3 separate regions of the Homo sapiens genome follow, and all the other regions are linked to region 3. The links are contacts of gene promoters, found by promoter capture Hi-C in blood cells and fetal thymus (Javierre and others, 2016). All regions are on one chromosome and are shown on one strand. Each heading gives the region's core, a stretch centred on a gene start or on the middle of the fragment in contact. The rest is flanking DNA. Distances are from core to core; before and after follow the strand shown.

Region 1 (2,700 bases), core at 157-2,656, 1.5 Mb before region 3:
CGCAACAAGTATACCAGTGTCAGAAACACCACACGGGGTTAAATTCATGGTGGTTCTACGCCTGCATTTTTATTTTCTGTTCCCTTCCCTTCCTCCCTTCCTTCCTTCCTTCCTTTCTTCCTTCCTTCCTTCCTTCCTTTCTGAGACAGGGTCTTGTACTATGACCCAGACTGGAGTGCAGTGGCATGACTCATAGCTCACTGCAGCCTCAAACTCCTGGGCTCAAGTATCCTCTCGCCTCAGCCTCCCAAAGTGCAGAGATTATAGGTGTGAACCACTGTGCCTGGCCCCTGCATTTTTCTTTATGAAAAGCATGGTACCCAGCATGGATGACCTGAATAAAAACATAAGCTTGTTCCACAGATGCTCAGCATGGGAGTCAGACCCTTTATGAACCTCTATCCGTACCTAAATATTTCTTGATCCGATTTTTGTCTTCAGCCTATATGGTCTCTCATGGGTTTCCAATCCATCTTAGTCAAACTGTGGAGCTTTGGGTTTGTGTTACTGGGCCACCATTTATTGCTTTCGACTCTTCAACCTACCAAACACCAAGGTACTGGTGGGCACAGGGATGCACGCTCTGCCCTCCCTGACTTTAAGACAATCCAAGGACCAGAATCTGTATGCCAGGCAGTGTGATAAAGGCTGTGCCTGTCAGGGTTCCTTGACTCTGGCTAATTGAATTCCAAAATGCAGAGGGGAAGAGAAGGTTGGGAAGAGTGTAGGCAATTTACAAAATCAAAGGAAATGCTGAACAACCAGACCTGGGCAAGTACTGGAACCATCAGCGTCAAGAGTGGGAAATAACAGATTATTTAGTTTTGGGCACCACTGCCACAATGAAGCGGTGTCACTCTGCTTCAGATACTCCCGGGAGAGAGGCCAGTAGGACTCTACTGCAGGGGCTCACTCTTACCTCCCGGCCAGAAGAAGGTTGGGGGGCCTGATTGGCAGTCCCATCACTACCACATACAAGGGTGGGGGCCCAGGGGGATCTCATCAAAATCAGCTACAGACACCAGAAAAGGGGGAGTGGATCCTCAGATCAGGCAAAACCAAGAGATGTCCATCAAGGGCTATGATGGCAGCGTGCCCCAGAAACAATGTGGGAAGGAGTGCTCCAGTCCGCGTGGGGTAAGTCAGGGAAGCCCTCAAGAAGAAATAGTATTGTAGGGATGCAGTGAGGCTCCCAGGGAACCCGGAATGGAACAACCAGCATCAGGAAGAAGTCAGCAACAGTGGCAGCAGCTGGAACCCACCTGTCTGCCTGTCTCTCGTGGCTTCTCCGCTCTGCTCTGCACTTGTTTTTGTTGTTTGTTTGTTTGTTTTTGAGACGGAGTTTCATTCTTGTTGCCCAGGCTGGAGTGCAATGGTGTGATCTCGGCTCACTGCAACCTCCGCCTCCCAGGTTCAAGTGATTCTCCTGCCTCAGCCTTCCCAGTAGCTGGGATTACAGGCGCCTGCCACCACACCTGGGTAATTTTTGTATTTTCAGTAGAGACAGGGTTTCGCCATGTTGACCAGGGTGGTCTTGAACTGCTGACTTCAGGTGTTCTGCCCGCCTCGGCCTCCCAAAGTGCTGGGATTACAGATGTAAGCCACCACGTCCAGCCTGCACACTTGTTTTTGACTCTCCATGTCCCTGCTGAGTCTCTGCATCTCCATAACTTCTGTGAGCATGTGGTCCTCAGCGGCCACCCGTCTCCATTTTCCTTGCCCATTAAGCTCAAGCACCCACCAGTGGCAGGGAGCATGCCCTAAGATGAGGGAGTTGATTTTTTTTAACTTTGGTTTGGGGTCAGGTGGGAAGGCTATATTTTCAACTCAGCTTTCACAAGTTAGTCTATGAGGTGTTTTTTTTTTTTTTTTTTTTTTGCCGGGGGGAATACTTGCTGTGCTTGGCAGCCAGAGTTCAAAGCTCTGGTGGGAAATGGTAAATGCTAGCCTTTAATTGTAAATGACCTCTCCAGCACCAAGGGAGATAGAGTCCAGTAAACAAACAATGGATTCTGCTATCTGTGGCTTCCTTCTAAAACCTAGTGCTTACCCTCTCCCATATTACAGACCAATTTGAGTAGAAGAAGCACATCTTGGGGAAGGTGGCTGAGGTACTGGGAAAAGGGGTTACCCACAGGCTGTCTGGCAGTTGAGGTGTCCCTCTTTGTCATCAAGCTGTGTCTTATGAAGCTGTCTCTTTGGCACATATATCCTACCCTGGGGGCTGGCTCAAAACGCAGGGTTTTACCTGGAGAATTTCAGTTGCATTTTACTTTAGGAACATAAGATTTTATCTAAAATGCTTTAACACGGCTCATAATATTGCCCCCTCCCCCCCACTCCCTCTGCATAAACTGCAAATTCTTTCCATTGTTAACACTATTCATGGCACTCAGCGGCTCTTCAAGGCTGTGCTGGAATTATAGGCACCTTTGTTTGTGGAATACCTTAGGAAGCTTGGCACCATTGATTTGCATCAGTGCCTCCGGAATAGCCTTTGCCTTCTCCTTAAAGATACTATCTAAACTGTGAAATTCATTAAATAGCCCCAGAAATGGATCAGGTTATTTAACACAACATCCCTAATGGTGCAATATCTCAGCTGTCTGCACGGATAGTGAACATTGTCTTGGATAGTGTTATCAGCCCAGGACACCCGCTATGAATATTGATCCCGAGCTTGTTACAGGCATCACTTGC
Region 2 (2,768 bases), core at 148-2,647, 2.0 Mb before region 3:
AGCAATTCCATCTGTAGGTATATACCCAAGAGAAGTAAAAACTTACATCTGAACAAAAACTTGTACACAAATGTTCACAGCAGTATAATAGCCAAAAAGTGGAAAAAATCCAAATGCCCATCAATCAATGAATGGATAAACAAAATGCTGTTTATACAATGGAGTATCAGCCAGCCACAAAAAGGAATGAAGTACTGACACATGCCACAACATAAACCTTGGAAGTATTATAAGAGAAAAAAGCCACATAAACGGTCATATATTGTACAATTCCATTTACGACATATCCAGAATAGGCAAATCTAGAGAGACAAAGTAGATTAGTGGTTGCCAGGAGCTGAGGCAAGGCGGAAATGACTCCTTAATGAGTACAGAGTTTCTTTTTGGGGTCATGAAAATGTTCCAGGATTATATAGTGGTTGGTAATGGCTGTACAACTCTGTTAAGTATACTAAAAACTACTGAATTGTATACTTTAAAGGGGTGAATTTTATGGTATATGAAATACACCTCAATGAAGCTGCTTTTTTTTTTTTTTAGAAAAAACTGGAAAGATTTGCAACTGATTCCAATTAATATCACGCATTCAAATATTTTTTATTTATATGAATTAAAACCACCCACATTATGGCCAGGTGCGGAGGCTCATCAAGCCTGCAGTCCCAGCACTTTGGGAGGCCAAGGCGGGCAGATCACTTGAACTCAGGAGTTTGACACCAGCCTGAGTAACGTACCAAGACCCCATCTCAAAAAAAAAAGAAAGAGACCACCCACATTAAAAATTGACTTGACAAAGGATGAAAAACCAAAACTGCGGTGTGTGAGTTCAGGAGTGAGAGGGACAGTTTGCCCTCAATATATGAACAATAAAAATAACAAAAATTCTTTTTTTTTGGTAAGAGATAGGGTCTTGCTACTTTGCCCAGTTATATGGTTTGGCTCTGTGTCCCCACCCAAATCTCATTGCCAACTGTAATCCCCATGTGTCAAGGGAGGGACCCGGTGGGAAGTGACCGGATCATGGGGGCGGTTTCCCCTATGCTGTTCTTGAGATACTGAGTGAGTTCTCAGGAGATCTGATAGTTTAAAAGCGTGGCACTTCCCCTGCTCACTCTCTCTCTCCTGCCTTGTGAAGGTGCTTTTTTTCTCTTCACCTTCTACCATAAGTTTCATGAAGCCTCCCCAGTCATGAGAAACTGTTAGTCAGTTAAACCCCTTTTCTTTATAAATTACCAATCTCAGGTAGTTCTTTTTCTTTTCTTCCGAGGCAGGCTGAAGCGCAGTGGCACAATCTCGGCTCACTGCAACCTCCACCTCCTGGGTTCAAGATTCTCCTGCCTTGGCCTCCCAAAGTGCTGGGATTACAGGTGCGCACCACCACGCCCAGCTAATTTTTTTGAATTTTTAGTAGAGACACGGTTTCACCATGTTGGTCAGGTTGGTCTCGAACTCCTGATCTCGTGATCCACCTGCCTTGGCCTCCCAAAGTGCTGGGATTACAGGTATGAGCCACAGCACCTGGCATCAGCTAGTTTGTTTTTTTTGTTTGTTTGTTTTTGAGACAGAGTCTTGCTCTGTCGCCCAGGCTGGAGTGTAGCTCGGCTCTCTGCAACCTCTGCCTCCTGGGTTCAAGCAATTCTCCTGCCTCAGCCTCCCGAGTAACTGAGACTACAGGTGTGCACCACCATGCCCAGCCAATTTTTGTGTTTTTAGTAGAGACGAGGTTTCACCATGTTGGCCAGGATGGTCTTGAACTCCTGACCTTGTGATCTACCCGCCTAGGCCTCCTAATGTGCTGGGATCACAGGAGTGAGCCACTGCGCCCGGCTGATAGTTCTTTATAGCAATGTGAAAACAAACTAATACACCCAGACTGGACTCGAATTCCTGGGATCAAGCGATCCTCCCACCTGAGCCTCCCATGTAGCTGGGACTACAGCCACATGACACCACGCCTGGGTAGTAGTTTATTTTTTTCATTACTAAAAAATTTAGGGCCAGGCGCAGTGGCTTACCACGGCTGAATACAAAAATTAGCCAGGCAAGGCTGGGCACAGTGGCTCACGCCTGTAATCCCAGCACTTTGGGAGGCAGAGGCGGGCAGATCACGAGGTCAGTTCGAGACCAGCCGGGCCAACACGGTGACACCCCATCTCTACTAAAAGATACAAAAAAATGAGCTGGGCATGGTGGCACGTGCCTGTAATCCCAGCTACTCAGAAGGCTGAGGCAGGAGAATCACTTCAAGCCGGGTGGTGGAGGTTGCAGTGAGCTGAGATCGTGCCATTGTACTCCAGCCTGGGTAACAGGGAGAGACTCCATCTTAAAAAAAAAAAAAAAAAATTAGCCAGGTGTGGTGGCACGCATCTGTAGTCTCAGCTACTGGGGAGGCTGAAGTGAGAGGATAGCTTGAGCCTGGGAAGTCAAGGCTGCAGTGAGTTGTGATCATGCCATACACTCCAGCCTGGGCAACACAGTGAGACCCTATTAAAAAAAAAATATATATATACATATATTTTACATATATATATATATTTTACATATATATATATATTTTACATATATATATATATATTTTACATATATATATAATTTGGGCTCAGGGGTTCATGCCAATAATCCCAGCACTTTGGGAGGCCAAGGCAAGAGGATTGGTTGAGCCCAGGAATTCAAGACCAGCCTGGGGGCAATATAGAGAGATCTTGTCTCTACAAAAAATTTTTTTAAAAAGCCAGGCACAATGGTACACACCTATAGTTCCAGCTACT
Region 3 (2,700 bases), core at 101-2,600:
TGGTGACATTTCTCTCTTTCAATCTTGGTGAATTCACCTACCATACGTACATTCTGGTGATTACTTATAGAAAAATACATTTGGTCATCATTTTTCTTGCTTTGACACAGGTAAACAGAATGCAAAGTTTATTCTCATTTTTAGCTAGAGGGCACAAGTCCTAGTACATAAACTCAAACGAAAACATAAGCAAAAAGATTAAAGTAATGCGCACTGAGTCATGAACCCAGAATAGACAGCTCTGAAAGAAAATTAGAGTATGGGTGAGCAAAAACGTTATTTCCTAGAGAGGATACCACCTTAAACACAACTTTGGAACTCTAGATTATAGACAAGTGGAATTTCAGAGTTTGCTTTTTTCAAAAGACAGAAAAATAATCTGCACAAGCCTCTACAGGAGGAGGATGAGGGGGCACACTATATACAGTCCCATCCCGTGGGGCATCTAGAAAGTTCCATCTGCTCCCACTGTTCTGCATCCGTAGCCTTAAGTTCCTTCAAGACTGAGTTCATATTCTACTTCAACAGAGTTCTGAGACCCCCCCTTTCCACTCGCTGTTTCCAGTGCCATGAGGAGCGATCTCATGGGGCAGCCCCTGCCTTCGGTGTCTGGGTCTTTCTTGCATTTCAAATTTCTGTCACCTAGAGCGTCCAGCCCTGGATGCCCGGGTTCCTGCGGCCTGAGGGTTGCACATGGGGTCAGGGGGCGTCAGCTGAGACAGCACCCGGCGAAGGCCAGCGTGGCTCAATGCCCATCACAGATGCCCTTCAACCCCAAAACCCCATCATCCGCTTCAGCCCCCCTCTAAAGCGAGAATATGTGTGAGGGAGGCTAGGAGAATTCGAAGTAAAAATAACCCGAATCGGCAGCGCGTCCGCCGCGCTAGCTGCCACAAATGCTGCAGATCCGACGGAATGGAAGCAGAAAAGGCCCTGGCGTCCCCTTGGGAAAGAACGAGGTCAGGAGTCGGTCTTGCACGCAGCGTAGAGCGACGAGACTACACCTACCTGATCACAGACGTTCCACACCAGCTCAGCAACGGTCGTCCACGCCGCTTGCTGTTTCCCCACAGCCAACGTCGAAAACACCCTCGTGCCGGCGCGCAGTGCACCGCGCCTGCGCATAGTCTCCAGCGAAAGAGCAAGGGTCTGCCAGTGCGCATGCTCCGCTCTCGACCTCCTCCCCGCACACTTTGAACGCCGCGCCTGAGGCCAGCTGGCACATGCGCATGCGTGTCTCTGGTGCCTGCTCTCCCCACCAAAGCAAGAAGCGGCGGGTACTTGAAGCGGAGTGAGCCGGAAGTCGCTTTGCCTGCCCATTTCCACGCTGTACCGGCGGAAATTCAAGCACTGGAAGAGAGGTTCCGGGGCTGGGCTGGCCTGACTGAAGGCGGCGGAATGGAGACGCGGACCGAGGACGGGGGCCTCACCCGCCGCCCCACGCTGGCCTCTTCTTGGGATGTTGCAGGCGGGGCCCTGACCCACAGCCTCCTCCTCACCCGGGCCGGTCTCGGCCCCGGTGACTTCGACTGGGAGGAGCTGCTGGCACCGCCTGCTCCAGGGTGCGCCGGGCCGACGGGGACGGGGTCGCTATGCTCGGCAACTGCCGCGCTTCTAGGGGAGCTGTGAGGGGAGGCGAGAGGGTCTGAGCCCGGGATCCGGGAGAGCAGTTGGTACCAGGTCTCTAGTTGGGGAGGGGAGCTGCGAGGTCGTCCGGGGTGGGCGGAGGGGGGTGGGTCCGGCCGGGAAGGGGCCGAGGCTCCTGGGCGTGAGAGGGGGAAGGTGACCCGGACTCGGAATTTCATATAACGTCCCCATCAGGCGTGATAGCCCCTCAGGGCTGCTGTCAAAGTCAGTCCGCCCCTCTACCCTCAAACAAGACACCTCCTGTCCACCAAAACAGGCTGTGTAAAAAGTCCAGCTATAGATGATCGCTGTCGACTTAATTTCGAAAAAGATACACTTTTGTCTTTCATTGTGCCCTGCACCCAGTAGGTGCCCAGTGATTTATGTAATTATCCGAGAGTCAATTGCAGGGGATTGAGTAGAATGTTGATTGAGGAAAAAATAGAGTTTGGGAAAGCCCTGATGTGTGACACCTTCATTTCCGTATGAATTCTGTGTTGAGCGCTTCTTGGATGCTTGGGAAGGTGCTTGGACCTCAAGGGCAAGTGGAAGTGAGTTAGAAGAAAGAAGCCCCGGCCGGGCACGGTGGCTCACACCTGTAATCCCAGCACTTTGGGAGGCCGAGGCGGGCGGATCACGACGTCAGGAGATCAAGACCATCCTGGCTAACACGGCGAAACCCCGTCTCTACGAAAAATACAAAAAATTAGCCGGGCGCGGTGGCGGGTGCCTGTAGTCCCAGCTGCTTGGGAGGCTGAGGCAGGAGAATGGCGTGAACCCGGAAGGCGGAGCGTGCAGTGAGCCGAGATGGAGCCACTGCATTCCAGCCTGGGCGACAGAGCCAGACTCCGTCTCAAAAAAGAAGAGTCATGTTCAGAGAACTATACTGTGTGATGTTTTCACCAATTTTCTTCTCAGTCAGGATCTGGTGATTTTGAAGAGAAACCACAACAACAAAGATGAAAACCCCTGCTTCCTTTACCTGAGGTGTGGCCCTGATGGAGGTGAAGAAATCGCTTCTATTGGCATTTTAAGTTCAGCAAGAAATATGGAAGTGTACTTAGGAGAGGAGTA

The links. The method cuts DNA at HindIII sites, captures the fragments that hold promoters and counts their contacts. A CHiCAGO score of 5 or more calls a contact.
Region 1: a fragment that was not itself captured here is called in contact with the fragment with the promoter of C10orf88 in region 3 in 2 of 17 cell types (fetal thymus and activated CD4 T cells); the score reaches 6.1 in fetal thymus.
Region 2: a contact is called between a fragment that was not itself captured here and the fragment with the promoter of C10orf88 in region 3, in 2 of 17 cell types (non-activated CD4 T cells and total B cells). The highest score is 6.2, in non-activated CD4 T cells.

Annotation. Positions count from the first base shown.
Region 1 is chr10:124,454,095-124,456,794 of GRCh38, reverse strand. No RefSeq gene overlaps it. Among named protein-coding and RNA genes, the nearest start is that of NKX1-2, 5.4 kb to the right of the region's middle. The HindIII fragment of the contact is 2,105 bases long and covers 354-2,458 here.
Region 2 is chr10:124,922,068-124,924,835 of GRCh38, reverse strand. It overlaps a transcript of ZRANB1 not described here. Among named protein-coding and RNA genes, the nearest start is that of ZRANB1, 19 kb to the left of the region's middle. The HindIII fragment of the contact is 5,966 bases long and covers 1-2,768 here.
Region 3 is chr10:122,952,877-122,955,576 of GRCh38, reverse strand. C10orf88 (chromosome 10 open reading frame 88) reads left to right here and starts at 1,350. Exons shown (of 6, transcript NM_024942.4): 1 at 1,350-1,562; 2 at 2,545-2,700. The coding sequence starts at 1,399. LOC124902519 (a long non-coding RNA gene) reads right to left here and starts at 1,135. Exons shown (of 2, transcript XR_007062325.1): 1 at 1,009-1,135. RefSeq lists a silencer at 1,555-1,634. The HindIII fragment of the contact is 5,860 bases long and covers 1-2,700 here.